2 separate regions of the Homo sapiens genome follow, and region 2 is linked to region 1. The links are contacts of gene promoters, found by promoter capture Hi-C in human tissues and cell types (Jung and others, 2019). All regions are on one chromosome and are shown on one strand. The core of a region is centred on a gene start or on the middle of the fragment in contact, and the rest is flanking DNA. Distances in the headings are between cores, read along the strand shown. Region 1 holds the start of CCDC82 (coiled-coil domain containing 82). Region 2 has its middle 76 kb from the start of FAM76B.

The links. Contacts are between HindIII fragments. The study calls those that stand out against the background at their distance.
Region 2: a contact is called between a fragment that was not itself captured here and the fragment with the promoter of CCDC82 in region 1, in 1 of the 25 tissues and cell types used here (lymphoblastoid cells).

Annotation. Positions count from the first base shown.
Region 1 is chr11:96,388,662-96,392,622 of GRCh38, reverse strand. CCDC82 (coiled-coil domain containing 82) reads left to right here and starts at 2,711. Exons shown (of 10, transcript NM_024725.4): 1 at 2,711-2,779. It overlaps JRKL (JRK like), which reads right to left and starts at 2,610. Exons shown (of 2, transcript NM_001261833.2): 1 at 2,550-2,610; 2 at 1-2,140. The coding sequence starts at 1,973. The coding sequence ends at 399. RefSeq lists a silencer at 2,538-2,797. The HindIII fragment of the contact is 6,698 bases long and covers 1-3,961 here.
Region 2 is chr11:95,711,416-95,715,376 of GRCh38, reverse strand. No RefSeq gene overlaps it. Among named protein-coding and RNA genes, the nearest start is that of FAM76B, 76 kb to the left of the region's middle. The HindIII fragment of the contact is 3,685 bases long and covers 116-3,800 here.

The DNA.
Region 1 (3,961 bases), core at 1,462-3,961:
TAAGATGGTTAACACAAGAAAAGATAACTATGGCAGCCTTCATAAATCAAGCAAAAGATTTCAGAAAAGTGCTTCAGTCTGTTCAGTTATCTCTAACTTTCACTAGAAAATTAAGGGAATGCCACTGTTACAGAAGGTATAATTGCAGATTCTAAAAAGTGAATACATGTGTACATGTAATTTATATCTATTCAGTATCATCTTCTGATTATCTGTACAAATAAAAGGACAAAAGACACAGATGATGAAAACACATAATCCTCAAACCACTTCAGATACATTTTGTGCCTGTATTTCACAGGACCAAGTCTGAGAATTCAGAACACAAAGAAAATTAAGCCATATTGCAAAGAGTTTGTCACAAACACAATGAGCAGAACAATAAAATTGAAATGACATTATTGACTTGACTTTGTCATCTTCTGTTTATTTCTGATGGTGGCTCGAAGTTTACGTATTACCAGTCTATCAGGTAGAATCATATCACCTTGTTGTTCTAGATAATCCAATAAATTTTCAGTCCACTGGAGGGCAGCTGCATGATTAATATGTTTCTCTGGAATTAGTTCTATTTCCTCCTCCTCATTTTCACTGGATTCATCTGCCTGGCCTTGTGCTCTTCTGATGATTTCGCTATCAGTTAACACTTCATAGCCTGGTTCAGTACTGTCTACTTCAAGCCATTTTTCAAGGTTCTCAGTAGTCACATTTTCCAATCCTTTGGTGTGTTGTAAAATGGCAGCCACAGTAGCCACAGAAATATCTTCAACATCAAAGTCCAGGCTCTCTTTCTCCTCTACCATAGGGAGAATCTTCTTCCATGCTCTGCTAATGGTAACTGGTTTTACTAAGTTCCATGCCATTGCTATTTCATAAAGTGCATCCAACAGAGTTAGCTTCTTCCAGAATGATTTCAGGTCATTACCTTCTTCCAAGTTGTTCTGGAGAAGACCTGCACGATAATTTCTCTTCATCGTTGCTATGACTCCCTGATCTGAAGGCTGAATCAATGAGGCCACATTAGGTGGTAAATATTTAGCAAATATTTGGCCATCATCTGACCTTAGGACATTTTCATTTGGATGTGTTGGTGAATTATCCAACAAGAGCACAGCCTTTTCCTGCAAGCCTTTAGATCTTAAATACTCTCGAACTTGCGGCACAAAAATTTTATCAAACCATTGTCGGAAAATGGAAAGATCCATCCATGCACCTTTTTGGCTGAAATAAGAGACTGGCAGGTTTAAGGTGTCAGTTGATTTAAAGGAGCGAGGTTTCTTTGCTTTCCCCACAACACAAAGTTTAAGTTTGTGTAAACCTGTTGCATTGGCACAACACATGATTGTGACTCTTTCTTCAATTGATTTGTGCCCAGGGACAGTGCATTTACCTTTGATTACTGAAATCCTAGAAGGCAAGCACTTCCAAAAGAGTCCAGTTTCATCTGCATTGTAGATTTGTTCAGGCTGTAAATTCTCTCGTTCAATAAAATCTCGAAAGTTATTACAAAAATCTTCCACCGCAGTCTCATCTCCATTTAATCTTTCATTTCTAATGTTAATCTCTCTAATGCTGTGCCGCTGCTTAAAACGAGTTAGCCAACCGGCAGAGGGGTTAAAATCACCATCCATTCCCAAAGCATAAAAGAAGAACTCTGCCCTTTTTGCACAAATTGGTCCAGATATGGGATTCCCTTTTGCTCTTTGCTGGTTGAACCATTCCAGCATTGCCCTGTCCAATTCCTCATACATGGATGGCTTCATAGATTTCCTCTTGGCCAAAAGACTTGTGGAATCAGAACTGCTTGCATAAGTTATAATCTTTTCCTTATTTTTTCTTATATCCCGAACTGTTGTTTCACCAATTCCATAAATCACTGCCAGTTGTTTGGAAGAACCTCCGTCTTCAAGTTTCTTTATTATATCAAGCTTATCTTTAATAGTCAACACCACACGCTTCCGTTTCCCTGACATAGCGAGGTTCTGGGACTCACCCCACACTCACAATGTAGCAATCCACAAAATCCTTCCTTCTCTTACACAGGCTCACTTCAACAGTCTTAACACACTCAGTCTTTCATCCTTACCAGCAACCTGGTGGCCCTGATCCCCTCCCGGGCTGGGGTTGGCTGGCAAATAGACTGCAGAAGAAGGTGAAAGAGGAGGAAGTTTGAGAGAACAGGCCTTTCTTTAACTTATACGGGCAGTAGCGGAGGCCCCATGTCACCGCGGATAATCCGGATTAAAAGCATGTGTTTTATTACCCCAGCAGCCGTGAGAAAGACTATACCCCCATTGTGGCCACGAACCTCCTGCACGTCCAGATCCCGGGTAACCGCGCGTCACTAACCCCTGCCACACCCCAAAGTTACGACAGAGAGCCGAAGAGCCTAGGAGTCAAGGACTGGCACCCTTCCTCAGGGGAACGGATATATTAGATTCCTTCCCCAGCAGCAGGGCCCTCCCGCCGCGCAGCCCCAGTTTCCCGCGCCAGCTTTAGCCGGGACAGTCCTCCCAGTCCCTCAAAACCCGCCAGGCCCCTCTCCCCACCTCTCTTGCAACCAGGACCCGCACAGCTCCCTGACTATCGCGCGGCAGTCGCTCCGCCCCTAGCCACGCTCCCGGAAGATGATCCCTCCCGCCGCCTGGCCCCACCCCTCGCCCCACCCAGAGGCGGGACTTCCCTTGGTCCCCGGAAGGGGGGGAGGAGCATCGCTTGTCCTGAGCTGGTTGCCGGGGCAGGGGCGGAGGCGGAGGCAGAGGTGGAGGCGCTTTGAAAGGTGAGAGCGCGAGGGCGGTGCGGGGCTGTCTCCCGGCTGGGACTCGCTCGCGCTCCCGGTGCTAATGGTTTATGAGAGGGGCGGGGGAAGCCGTGCCTCCTCGCGGACTAAGAGAAAAATTCCCGCGGGCGCTCTTTGGGTGGGCCGGAGAACGCCCCTCAGCCCTTTGCGCCTCTAACCCTCCTCAGCTGAGCTGCAGTGGGCGCGGTGCCCGTTATTTCCGCCTTGGGGAGGTGCTTGGAACTGATGTAGGGAGCTCGGTTGGTGATTTCTCGGGTTTCTGGCCTTTCCAGACCCTTGTAATTGTTTTCTCGGTGCAGAGCTCTTTTGGGGTCTGGGGGTTTCCGTCGTCCTGCGCGCGTCATCGCGAAGCTTGGCCTGAGGGTCCGGTTTCCTAGCTACTGTGCCCCTCCCTCCTGGAGGCAGAGTGACGGACTAGTGGGCTAGCGGGCGCTGGGTTCCTGCGTCCCGCCAAAGAGGTTTGTAATCATGAAAGTCACCCTTCCGGGTGTTAATTCCTGAGAGGATCTATTCCACTGTCTACCACTCATTCCTGCTGCATTAACCTTCATTGTTAACGGATTTTAATGAATAATATAGTTATCCCGGATACCATGCTGGCAGGATCCACTTTGCGAAATTGTGGACTGTTGGACTGTGATTCTAAGTGGGGGAAATAGGCTTTCCTCTCTTTATGTTTATTTTCTTATATCCTATTTCTGTCATGTTCTGTCTTGTTTTCCTGCCAATAGAAGAACTATGATAAATTTATTCATAGCAGTGTGATAAGAACTTGATCTTAATCATACACTGTAGCCCTCAAATCGTGTATTATGCTGGCTTGTTTTTGGTGTCCCTAGTAATTTCATCAGATTGTGAGCTCCTTGGGAGCAGAGACCATGTTTATTTGAAATGGTGGCAGCACAGTTCCTAGCAGGTGCTTGCATTTTGGTAGATATTCAATAATTATTTTTCGGCTTATTAATCTTTGCTCTCCAAACTGCCATATAAAAGAAAACATCGAAGAGGAGTGATGTTTTACACCCAAGAATGGATCCCTCCTGGTAGAATTTCAAATAATGACCTGGGGTTCCACTGCCTTTCAAATCTGTAAAGTGTTAACTACCACCTGCATTGTTTATACAGCAAGTAGGTGATTTCTAGAATGAATCTTTTCTTGAG
Region 2 (3,961 bases), core at 709-3,208, 680 kb after region 1:
TGTGATTTGAGACAATTATATGACATTTTGCATACCAGTTTCCTTTTCTTCATCTGTAAACTGAAGAAACTAACACTCATATCAAGAGAATAATGTCTGCGACCATGATATTGACCCAGTTTCTCCCCCGTAATGAGTATTTGATGTATAGTGGTTATCATTATTGTAATGTTTAAAGTATCTAATAATAATATTGGGAGGAGGAACCATGAATGTTTTGGATTTGTTCCCTTCACAGCCCTTAGTGCCATGGATATGGTAGGTACTCAGGATTTGTGTATAAATGATTAACAAAAAAGTAAGATAGTAAGAGTAAGGAGCAACCTGCTCTTCTATTAACTAGCTTCATGCCGGGGTAAATCATTTACACTTCCTGAATCTTAGTTTCCTCATGTGCAAACTGGTAGTTTTATAAATGCAAAACTGGTAGTTTTGCACTTGGATATTTATGATGAGTATTTAATTTGTTCTTTCAGGTCTCCAGAGAAGGAAGTTCTTTGGGCAAAATTTTTGAGTTTAAGAATTATTTCTTAATGATAATCTGATTTTTCAAAGCTTTCAGGTATTCTCAGCAAACTAGCGCAGGAACAGAAAACCAAACACTGCATCTTCTCACTCATAAGTGAGAGTTGAAAAACGAGAACACATGGACACTGAGAGGGGAACATCACACACTGGGGCTGTCAGGCAGTAGTGGGCAAGGGAACGGAGAGCATTAGAACAAATACCTAATGCATACGGGGCTTAAAACCTAGATGATGCGTTGACAGGTGCAGCAAACCACCATGGCACATGTATACCTATGTAACAAACCTGCACATTCTGCACATGTATCCCAGAACTTAGAGTAAAAAAAAAGTTTTTTGAGAAGAGATATCAGAAATATTGTCATATTTTCTTGATTAGAGTCGAGATAAAAAGAAGTAAATGTTGAGTGTCTGCTCCCTTTGGTATTATCTTATGGACAGCATAGGACCAGGATTGAATCCTGATGACCACACTGGAAGAAGAAGTGGAAAATGAGGTGAAGGAGCCCAATTCTAGAACAGTTCAATTTCATTTGTTATTCTGGTGATTAATGTCTTCAGCTTTATACCTGGAGTGTTTCCAAAGCTTTTCACTAGATGCTCACCTTGACTCTGCCCAATATTCTCAACCTCAGCTAAATAAAACTAGTTTTTGACACCTAAAGAAATGGAACTTGTAAAACGTGGACATAATTCTACTTAAAGAGACAATGATAAACCCATACTTACATTCATTTAACTGTATTGATTTTTTTCTCAGAATTTAAGTGGGTTGAGGCAAAGAGGTATGTGACAGGGAGGAAGGGGAAAATCTTCTGGGGCACTTATATGCTTTTTAGAGTTTCTTTCTATACCTAACTCTTCTCTGGGGTGCTGAGGGTTCCAAAATAAATATTAATTACATCACAAAATTCTAAGAAGATGAATTTTTTTTGTCAGGTTCACCAATGGTCACTTTGGATTCCCAAAGAACACAGTAAACTTTAATTAGGTGATTAAACCATTAGGTGAAAAAGGAGTATTTCAGTATTAGAATAATCTTCTCATCTGATTCCCCAATCAACAAGCCATATGGAATCAACATACCAATATTGACTCTAATACATATTAGTCAGAATATAAAGTTGAAAGAGGTAAATAAGACTACCTCCCTAGGTGTGTATGTGGACTTACAGAACCTAGTTATATGGTGGTATTATACAATGGAATTACGTCACATTTATTCATTTTTGATGGGCAGGTGGCATTCCTTAGGCTTTTGAGTAGACTACATTGTAATGTGGGAAAATCGTTTGTCTAACTTCATTAATTGACAGCACTAATGAGAATACAATTCAGGTTGGTTGGTACAGTTTCACAGTTTTGCTCTATTAATGCTGGAATCATATCTTTATATTTGGCAGTTTTACTCCGAGCCAATGACATCAGCAAAAAGTTCATCCTAAAAGAAATTTCCATGTTGAATCAAATAACTGTAAGAATGTTATTTCTTCTTAACTTCCTAAATTTTGTGCCAATGATTCCATTGGATATAGAGGAAAGAGTCTTTCCTTTGAGAGCTTTCTTTCTACAAACATTAAAAACATACAGTCCAGGAAATCCTTTTAGTACAAACCAGTGGAAGGTGATATAAATGAAAATAAGGGGAAATAAAATAAAAACAGTGGGTGGAATCTGACATATTTGTTTGCTAAAATAACATAGATAGTTATGAATGGCACAATATTATTCAAATTTTACAAACATTTAATATCTTTATCACATAAATCATCTTATTTAATGTTTAAACTTGGGAATTAGCTCTTATTGTCCCCCCTTTCCTTGAAGATGAGGAAATGGAGCAGAGAGGTTAAGTAACTGTCTGAAACAAAGAGCTAGTATGGGTGAGAACCCAAATTCAATTCCAGTTCCATCAGACTGTAGTCCAGTGGTTTTTCCTATTTTGCTGATGGTTCTAACATTTTTTCCTCACTCAGTGCACCTGATAATTTGTGTCTGTCAGCAGCACTGTGCCTCTGGAGGGGTGGGAAGGTGGGAGGTTTCCCTTAAGGGCCCATCAGCATCTATGGATGGGTGGGTATGTGTAGTTTGGGAAAGATGCCAGGGACAATTCCATTTTCCCACCACCCACTTTGGATTCCCAAAGAACACAGTAAACTTTAGTTAGGTGATTAAGTCATAGGTGAAAAAGGAGTATTTCAGTATTAGAATAATCTTCTCATCTGATCCCTAATCAACAAGTCATATGGAATCAACATACCAATATTGACTCTAATACGTATTAGTCAGAACATAAAAGTTGAAAGAGGTAAATAAGACTACCTCCCTAGGTGTGTGTGTGGACTTATAGAACCTAGTTATATGGTGGTATTATACAATGGAATTGTATAATTGACATTCTTTGCATTATCCCACACTCTACCATTTTGGTTTGATTTTATTCTATTGACTTTAGCACAGAACTTCTCCCAGCTTTCCTGTTTAATATCTCTGTGTTATGTGTTTTTGCACACATTTATCAAGCAATTAGTTTCATGGAATATTTCTCAGTCGGCACATTTCCTTTGTTCAGAAGTATATCTCAGAATATATGGGGCAAGAAACTCTTACCACAGAGTTATATTAAGCTTTAATTAGGATAAAACATCAATTCGGGCGTTACTATGTGAAGCTGGAAATCTCTCTGTCACATCTCTGTATTTCTCCTCTTGTGAGCGTCCTTGACCTTGCTTGCCTGTAATGGCTTAATATTACAGGAACCATTTTGCTTGGGCTCATTCTGATACCCATGACTCAACTGCTCCCTAATATGCTTCAGGAGGAGGATTTAATCACTTTCACTACCTCCTACCCACAGGTCTTTTTGTCTTCTAGCCACAGTTATCTCTAGTCTCCCTTGAGGGTCTCTACCCAGCCATTTTCAGCATCCACCACAACTCTACCCCTTTGCCTGTGATACTCTGGTGTCCCAGCCAAGTGACATGCACACTTAATATTCTGTTGTGCTTTATACAGGTTGCCTTAGTTTTCCTTCATGGTCCCTTCTAAGTCATAACTCGTTTTTTCTCAGTAACAAAATGAGCTGGTGAGTTTTGTGATTTTGAATCAGGCATGAGAAATACACAATATTAGGCTATTAGGACCATGGAGCTTACTGAACTTAAGTGCCCTTAGCCCTCTGGAAATAATAAGTATGCTGAATTATATACCTTTACGTCCAGTCTTTATGTGCCACATTGCTGCTAAAAGGGACATTTCTGCTTTCTCTGTGTTGGTGGTTTCAGTATCAATATTCTTTCAAACTCATTGGCCAATTTGGATTTTACAGAGAGCACAGACTTTTCAGGTTTTAGCTAAGGAAAAGGAGCTGTTACTTTTCACAGAAAAGCTGCTGTCTGTTGGAAGCCAAACCATGAGCGGATTTTTCACAGCTG